3 separate regions of the Homo sapiens genome follow, and regions 2 and 3 are each linked to region 1. The links are contacts of gene promoters, found by promoter capture Hi-C in blood cells and fetal thymus (Javierre and others, 2016). All regions are on one chromosome and are shown on one strand. The core of a region is centred on a gene start or on the middle of the fragment in contact, and the rest is flanking DNA. Distances in the headings are between cores, read along the strand shown. Region 1 holds the start of HMGCS2 (3-hydroxy-3-methylglutaryl-CoA synthase 2). Region 2 has its middle 23 kb from the start of REG4. Region 3 has its middle 23 kb from the start of ADAM30.

Region 1 (2,806 bases), core at 154-2,653:
AGGGCACTGGGTGGCACAGACTGTAGCATGTGCTTTAAGACAGCAGGGGTTTTGAGAGGAGGAAGAGGAGAAATACCCTGGAAGAGATAGTATGAAGCAAAGAGGACACAGGCCTTGTTGTAAGCATTTAAAGTGCATTGGATTGACAAGAAGCAACAGGTATTTCAGAGAAGAGATTGGAAATGAAGAATTTCACTGACGACAGAACTTTGCAAAAGGCTGAGTGTAAGAGCAGGAGGTGACACAGCAAGGTAGGAGATTGAGTTAGAACACCAACACACCAAGATATATGGAGATAAGAATTTAAAGATAAGATGGAAGACCTAGATATCCTGGACTGCTGGGGGCACCTAGACATTCTCTGTCTGTAGGAACATGAAGTCAACTATATCCTCCTAAAGCAGGAACCACTCCAGCTCTTTTCTGTGTTCCCTACACACTCATATTAGACAGGGGGTTGGTGATGGGGATGACTGAATGAACTAAGGAGTGAATGCATGACTCACAAAAGGTAGAGGAAGATTGGTGCTGTGGGAGGAGTGGAGGGAGACATTCATTTGGAAAATCAGATGGCAGGAGCCTTTTTATTGAGTAGTAGAAGAGCAAAGCAGAAGGACCAGAATCTGGAGTCAAAAGACATGGTTGAGTTCTCATTCTGCAACTTCCTAGCTGCAGGTCTTTGGGAAAATGACTCCTTTATACATAACTCTGACCTCATCTATAAAGTAAACCTTTCCTCCTTAGGAGATTGAGCTTCAAACTGTCACCTCTTTGAGGCTCCTGTCCCTTTACTACAACACTAATTTCATCCCACTTGGAAATTGTGTAGAGCTGTACAAGTAAAAGGGTGGACAATAAACAGGAGAAATATAGTAGGTTCCACATACTCTAACGCCCAGCCCTTGGCCTATGTGCCAACACTCACTCCCAACTCCTTGAAAAGCTACTATTAAAAGAGTTTCCCTTTGGTTTAGAAAGATGTTTCTTATAATGCATAGCACATTAAAATAATAACAACTAACACCACAGAGAGGAGTGTGGAACACCCAGTGAGAGTAATACAGATAAGGAGCCAGGGTCTAAAACAAGACACATAGGGTTACCTTGGGATGTGATACAACAAGGAACATCATAACCTCCTGCTTAGGTAGCTGGGCAGAATCAAGGCTGCCACAGAGCCTGATGGAGTAGGAGGAACAATGCCCAGCCATTCCCACACATGCTCAGGAGCAGGGCAGCTATGTACATGTTGGAGAGATGCTGTTTGTCTTTGACTCGCCCGTGTTCTGAGTGAGCCCTTTGACCCAGTTTTAGAAGCAGACTGAGCCACGGTGAGCAGAGGCGGGGCTTAGGGAGGCAGGAGTCTTGGGGCTTTATAAAGTCCTGCCGGGCACCACTGGGCATCTCTTTCAAGGTTTCTGCTGGGTTTCTGAACTGCTGGGTTTCTGCTTGCTCCTCTGGAGATGCAGCGTCTGTTGACTCCAGTGAAGCGCATTCTGCAACTGACAAGAGCGGTGCAGGAAACCTCCCTCACACCTGCTCGCCTGCTCCCAGTAGCCCACCAAAGGTGAGTCACTTTCTGAGAAGCACCTTGTAACTAGTAAAAGATAGTTTTTCCCTGCTATTGGGGAAAACTCACTAGAATCCCACTCAAAATTTGGCAAGGCTTGTGCACAGCAGCCTTAGACAAGCAAGTTAACTTTAAAGGGTCTCAGTTACCTCATCTCTAAACAGACAATCCCTTTCAGCTGTAGAGTGAGAAGAGCCCAAACCTCTGACACATGCTGTGTTTGTGAGCAATGGCAACTTTTACTCTGCCAGCTGCATGAAGCAGTAGAAATATCAGTACCAGGCCACAGCTTTCCTCTCTACACCACCATTCCCACCTTCACCCCTAGCCTCTGCCTAGAACCACAGGACCTTGTGCCAACTGCAGTGTTAGTAAAACCAGTGACTTTATATCACTGCAGCAGAATCAGAAATGGACTGAGGATGAGAAGCTGTGTTTGCCTTGTGTTCCAATTTTATGAAAAGGGGAAATGTGTGTTTATGTGTGTATGTGTACATGCTCTTTGCAAGAAGAACATGCACACTCCTTTTCTTTGTAAATAGTCCCTGAACATGGCTCAAGTGCTTATGTTTTCCATTGTCAGCGATGATGGTAACACAGCTATCGTTAGTGCCTCAGGCTCCCAGCCACCTATGTGTTTCTGTCTAATCCCCAAACCATCCACTACACATTGGGACTAGTTCTTTATTTCCTTACATTTTTACTCTATATTCTATGACTACTAAATATTTAGAAAAATGATTTTGACCTAGTGTCTTTCCTTGCCAAATACCCAAGGAACCTGGGTGTATAGATGTGCATGGTAGAGGCAAATGCACATAGCTTTCTTATATTTTTCATTATGCTACCATCATCTCACTCTCCCCATGCACTGCCAAACCCTGCATGTGGGTTAAATGTCCCAGCTCAGGATTTAACCTGTTTCTATATTTGTGAAGAAGAGATTGATGTGGGTTTCTTGTTTTAATAGCAATAGTTGGCCATCAGCCAAAAGACATACATCAATCCTCCCCAACATTCTGACTCCCTTGGTTCAAACTCTTGGAATCATTCCCATTTCCCTTCTGGTATATTCACAGTTAATCCCATTATGCATGGCTTGAACTAATATTGCTTTTCATGAGTCACCTTTTCTCTATATGTCTAATCGCCTTTAATCCAACCCACATTGGCTCTAACTCCAACCTAAAAGAGACTTTCATCTCAGCATCTGCTTTGCTGTCTTCAAAATTCGGT
Region 2 (2,700 bases), core at 164-2,663, 66 kb before region 1:
TTCCCAGGTAGGCTTCCTATTCTTTGCATCCCACAACCTGTCTAGAATGACACATGTTTTTTGAATATTTTTGTGGATTGGGAGTGTCTTTGCTTCCTGGCAATCTTGTCATTGCTGGGTAATGTGAGAAAGATCAACAAAAAAGAAAATATCAAAGTGACTCCATTGGCTTCCCCTCACCCTTTGGGTGTCACTTTTCCTTACTTGATGTTCTTTGGGTAGAAGGAAAGTCACAGTAAGATCATCAATGCCAGTGGATCCCACTGTCTGTGGTTTTATTTTCAGAGCTGGGTTTAGAGCCTTCCCTTGCAATGAAGATCCCTCCCCAGCTGGAAGGTGATGCTCTTGAAGGTTCAGCTGACAACACACATGGGCATCAAGTCATTGGCCACATTCACGCCTCAAGTGTCCTAAAACCAAAAATGATCAAAAGAAAACTGCCGTTCAGCAAGTGGAGACTGGCATGCAGATTCTCTGGCCTGCAAGCTTAGAGTAGGAAGGTAATCACATCTATGGCTCTTAGCGGCCCTCACTCCTTATTTCTCTGTCTATGATGATAGCTCATTCTCCCACTGCTTTTCTCTTCCCTATTTGTGAGTATTGTCTGAGGCCTCTGCTACTTCTCATATCCTGGGTTCTTCCAATAGTCTGCTCTCCTGCATCTTCTCAAAAGACTGGGACATGGAGTTGTAAGGGGGTGGTTTTCTTTGCAAAGGGCCCTCTCCTTCTAAGCCCTCTGCTTCTGAGTGTGCATGGTTGATGCTGAGCACATCCTCCCTGGGAGGTGTGAAAAGCCATCACTCTGCTCCGGACAAAGGGGATCAGGAAGAAAGGGGCTGATGTCATCGGATGCTGGTTGGGCATAAGCAGGTCCTTCTATCTGCACTCCAGGCTGACTGGAAGTTCAGGGTTGTTTTCTTCTCACTTGTGGACGGCACTTGCCTCTTCAGCCAGCCGGAGGCTCAGGCTTCAGCTCATCCTCCCAGCAGAAGCTCAGTTTGCCCCTGGGCTATCACCACTTAGCAATCCCTCCAAACTCAGCCATCAGCAAGACCTGACATAGATGCTCTTTTCATTTTTCCTTTCCTCTCTCATACAGATACCAAATACTGCTGGAAGGATGAAAAGGATGAAAGGATGTCACAAAAAGTAGCTTTTCTGCTCGATGAAAAAAACTACAACAGCAAACCAAGTTCAATTCCAAACACAACACTGCAGGGCTCCTTCACTGAGGATTGAATTTTAGACACAGAATGCTCTTGATGATTGCAAACCACTAGGCTCCTTTGATTTGAGAAACCACAATTCATCCTATTTCCACTTGAGATGAATACCCAAGGAGACCAATTCCCAGATGGACAAACAGCATTGAGAGGCCTTAGCCCTGCTCCTCTCAATTCCATCCTGTAGAGAACAGGAGTCAGGAGCCGCTGGCAGGAGACAGCATGTCACCCGGGACTCTGCCAGTGCAGAATATGAACAATGCCATATTCTTGCGGAAAACACTTAGCCTGAGTTTCATAGGAAGTAATCAGCAGACAACTGCAGAATGTAGAACACTGAGCAGGACAACTGACCGCTCTCCTTCACACAATCCATGTCACCACAAATCACACAACAAAAAGAGAAGAGACATTTTGGGTTCAAAAGGATTGAAAAGATAATGTAGCTCACTTCTTTAGTCACTTTGAACCCAAAGTATCTCCTCATCTTTTTGTTGTTGTCATTGATGGTGGTGACATGGATTTGTTTGTAGAGGACGTCAGCTGTCTGGCTCAATTTTCTTCATTCTGAAGTTGTCAGAAAATTTCCTTATGATTAAATTCAGCCTAAATGTTTTGCCAGGAACACTGCAAAGTCAATGCTGTGAGTTTCCAACCTCAGTCCATCTGCGGGCAGAGAAGGTCCAGTTTGTCCATCACCATTATTGTGATATCAGGACTGGTTACCTGGTTAAGGAGGGGTCTAGGAGATCTGTCCCTTGTAAAGACACCTGATTTATAATTAATTTGAAAAGTGGTTTGAAAAAGTACAAATACCTGTATTCTAACAATCTTCCTCTGAGCATTTTATCATCAATTAATCACCCCTGGCTGTGTCAGTTATTATATTTATGTTTGTACGTTGGAAATTTTTATCTCAGTCCTTAGTATGAACTTGTTTCTGCTGGCATTCTGTTGTGAAAAAGAATATTCCCTGCCCAAATTTTAACTTTCATCCAAGATTAATTTTAGTCTATTAAAATTAAAATGTTTATGTTTTAAATCTGTTTAATTAAAATATTCTTGCCTATTACTCTGGACTAGTGAATTTTTTTTACACACAATGTTTTAAGCTTTTATTATTATGATTGTTTTTGGTGGGTAAGGATACAGATTAATAAAAACATTCTTATTTCCCTGTTTACATTCCAAACTCTTCCATATTTTAGTCTACATTTATCATATGTAGTAGTAGATGGTATTTACTACATTTCTTTGTCAATGTTATTTTGTTGTCTTTGTTTGTGTGTGTGTCTTTTGTTTGTTATTTAGGAAGGGTTGTGTAGCTCATGTTTGAAAGTGCACTAAACATGTTTTGGCATCATGTTTAAAAGTCCCCTTTTAACTTGACACACTTCTAATATTTGGTTTATACATTTTTAATCTTCTCTTTTGAATTTAAATTTTTACCACTATGACAACCAAAGATATTATTTTC
Region 3 (2,822 bases), core at 256-2,755, 100 kb before region 1:
GGCCTGTTAAGGGGTGGAGAGCTAGGGGAGGGAAGGCATTAGGAGAAATATCTAATGTAGATGACGGGTTGATAGGTGCAGCAAACCACCATGGGACGTGTATACCTATGTAACAAACCTGTACATTCTGCACATGTATCCCAGAACTTAAATATAATAAAAATTAAAAAAAAAGAAATTCACATTCACACATACTTTCTACTTCTTAGTGTGACTATATGTGGACTTTCTTATTTCTCCCTAGTGAATTTTACTACTCTTAAAATAGGAATTAATTTTTTCTTTGTGTCTCTTACAGCATCTAGCATAATATACTTCATGTAGTAGTTGTTCAATAAATATGTTATTGAACCTACTTACAATCATTCCATGGAGGCTTAGAGAGCCATGAAGTTAAACTGGATCGTGCCTGTAACATAGCCAAGGCTACACCCTGAGTCATGGACTGCAGGGCAGGAAAGATCCTGCAGTCTCACCTCCTGCATGTGGGGCTAGACTATCCACTTGTCCCTGTTTCCACCAACAGCGCCACTAATCAACTCTGGGACATCTGGGGCAAGGGTGCTTCCAGTTAGCACTGTGGCAGTCTGCCCAACTGATAGGAAACTGAATTTGGGGTGAGGAGGTAGAATTCAGAGAACAGGCTTACTGTAGAGTCCTCACAATCAAGTTGACAGCAGATAAATTGAAATATGAGACACATTTTCCCATTCCTCCATGCAGAATATAAGTGAGAATACCTGTCCAGTCCCAGATTTAAGTATTTTCCTCTCTCAATCAAAAAGCTCCATCCCTACAGTCTTAAAAAAAAATAGAAAGATGGTTGTGAGAAAAGCCTCATTCTAGAGAATAACTCTTCACCAGCTAGAGGCTGGACTGAAACAGGAACATCTAGCTCAAAATAAAAGCACCATGATGAAAATCTCCATTCCCAGACACAAGGAGCTCATGCACCACCTCTGGCAAATGTACTTGTCAACTCATGCCAAACATTTTTACTGAACTGGGAGCACTGACAGCAATGGAAACCTCCCCCAGCTCTTGAGGCTCATCATGCTGTAAAAGAGAGCTGAGAGAAAGTGTGGTCAGTTTTCTTTGACTCATATCCACCTAACCTCCATTGTTCACTTCTGCTTCATGTCCCAGAGCACTATTCCAAGCCCACACTGAAATTACATTTCTGGATTAATAACAAGCACAAGAAAATAAATCACATCTGCCCCAGGCGTGAACCCAAAACCAAAAGCAGCCACAGAGAAGAATTTGTGAGCTGAGCTTAGGGTCAACTTTAATTCTGAAGGAAATGAACCTTTTTTTAAAAATCAAATAACAATCTATGTAGACAAAACATTTATCTACACTGCTCTAATTAGTTTTGGGGTCTTTAAAACCTCTTTCTTTCTCGTGTAGATATCTACCAGAGCAGAAATTCTGTGATAAGATGGCCTGAGGCCAAATACAGTTTAATAAAGTGCTTCATCTTTATCCAACCCTCAGGACTATTTTCATTTCCTAAAGGAACATCCAGGTATCCAGGCATATCTCTAGAACATCATCTCACTGGGGCTTATAAACCACCTGCCCTTTCTGTCAGGACATTTCCCTGTGCCATCAAGTTCAAGTAAAAGGCTGCAGTGCGGTCACTGCACCATTGCTGCCAGCTTCTATTTTTTATTTTGTTGTTGCTCTGTGTGTGTGTGTGTGTGTGTGTGTGTGTGTGTGCATAGGCATGCATGCAAGCATGCTTCCACATGTTTCCATCAGGAATGATCTTTCGGGAGAACATAAGAAGTGCATGTGGGAATCTCATGCTATGTCTTGCAGGCTCTGTCTCATCTCTGTTGTCCATTCTCTCCAAATTTTCTGGACTCTGTTGGAGATTACCAACCCTTGCTTCTGCCTTTAGACATCCTGTCTAAATGCCTCTAAGACACCTGGAACACTCTGACAACCCTGTCCTTAAGGAACTCTATCCTCTGGGCTCACAAAATACCTGCAGGTAACTGGGCTGTGCTGTGCTGTGCCAGTTTCCACACTCTCTGCTTTGAGAGGTCCCAGGAGTCAGGACAATCCTTTCCCCCCGGAAAGCACTTGGCACCACAGTCCCAGGCTTTAGAATACAAAGGGCTCCAGGCTCCTCTGAAGCACTGCTGTTGCTCTGGGACATTAGGTATGGCTTGTGGTTGCCAGCACCATCTCTGCACAGAGGGCCTCCTAGAGTCCTGGTGACATCGCTGGCCTGGCTGGGACCAGGGTTACCTCCTATCCTTTCCCTGTGTGTCATATGGACATAATAGTACCCACAGCTCAGTATGCTGTGCCGACTGAAATAACCCAAATGCACACTTAGCACAGTATGGTTCCTGGTAAAAGCTCTGCTAATATTAGTTATTAGGATATGTACTGACAAGAAATAATATTTTTTCTTTAATTGTGTAATGCAATATACAGAAGTTGAATAAAACATAGGTATAAATTCTTGCATATGTTAACATGCAAGCACTAGCTAGGACTAAATACTAGCTTCCCACATGCCCCTTCCTCACCACAGCACCCCTCATATCCTTAGCAATGACCATTACCTGATTTTCACGATGTTTGGTTCTTTATAATTTTCTGCTTCTCATGCCCGCCCTCCTGATGGGTCTAGGTTTTAACCTGTGATCATACACGTGTATTCTCTTATGCCTGGGTTTTTTTTTAACTAAATGTTGTGGATTTAACAGTCATCACTGATTCACCCACTTTCGTTGCTAGTGAAATATACCATAATCTGTTTATGCACATGCTTGATGATGGGCATCTGGGCTGTTTCCAGTTTG

What was found. Contacts are between HindIII fragments. The CHiCAGO score rates a contact against its expected background, and 5 or more counts as called.
Region 2: a contact is called between a fragment that was not itself captured here and the fragment with the promoter of HMGCS2 in region 1, in 2 of 17 cell types (M0 macrophages and M1 macrophages). The highest score is 5.3, in M0 macrophages.
Region 3: a contact is called between a fragment that was not itself captured here and the fragment with the promoter of HMGCS2 in region 1, in 1 of 17 cell types (M0 macrophages). The highest score is 5.2, in M0 macrophages.

The regions. Positions count from the first base shown.
Region 1 is chr1:119,767,502-119,770,307 of GRCh38, reverse strand. HMGCS2 (3-hydroxy-3-methylglutaryl-CoA synthase 2) reads left to right here and starts at 1,403. Exons shown (of 10, transcript NM_005518.4): 1 at 1,403-1,567. The coding sequence starts at 1,464. RefSeq lists a silencer at 1,528-1,822. The HindIII fragment of the contact is 4,165 bases long and covers 1-2,806 here.
Region 2 is chr1:119,833,304-119,836,003 of GRCh38, reverse strand. It overlaps the pseudogene NBPF7P. Among named protein-coding and RNA genes, the nearest start is that of REG4, 23 kb to the right of the region's middle. The HindIII fragment of the contact is 1,849 bases long and covers 489-2,337 here.
Region 3 is chr1:119,872,090-119,874,911 of GRCh38, reverse strand. No RefSeq gene overlaps it. Among named protein-coding and RNA genes, the nearest start is that of ADAM30, 23 kb to the left of the region's middle. The HindIII fragment of the contact is 6,436 bases long and covers 1-2,822 here.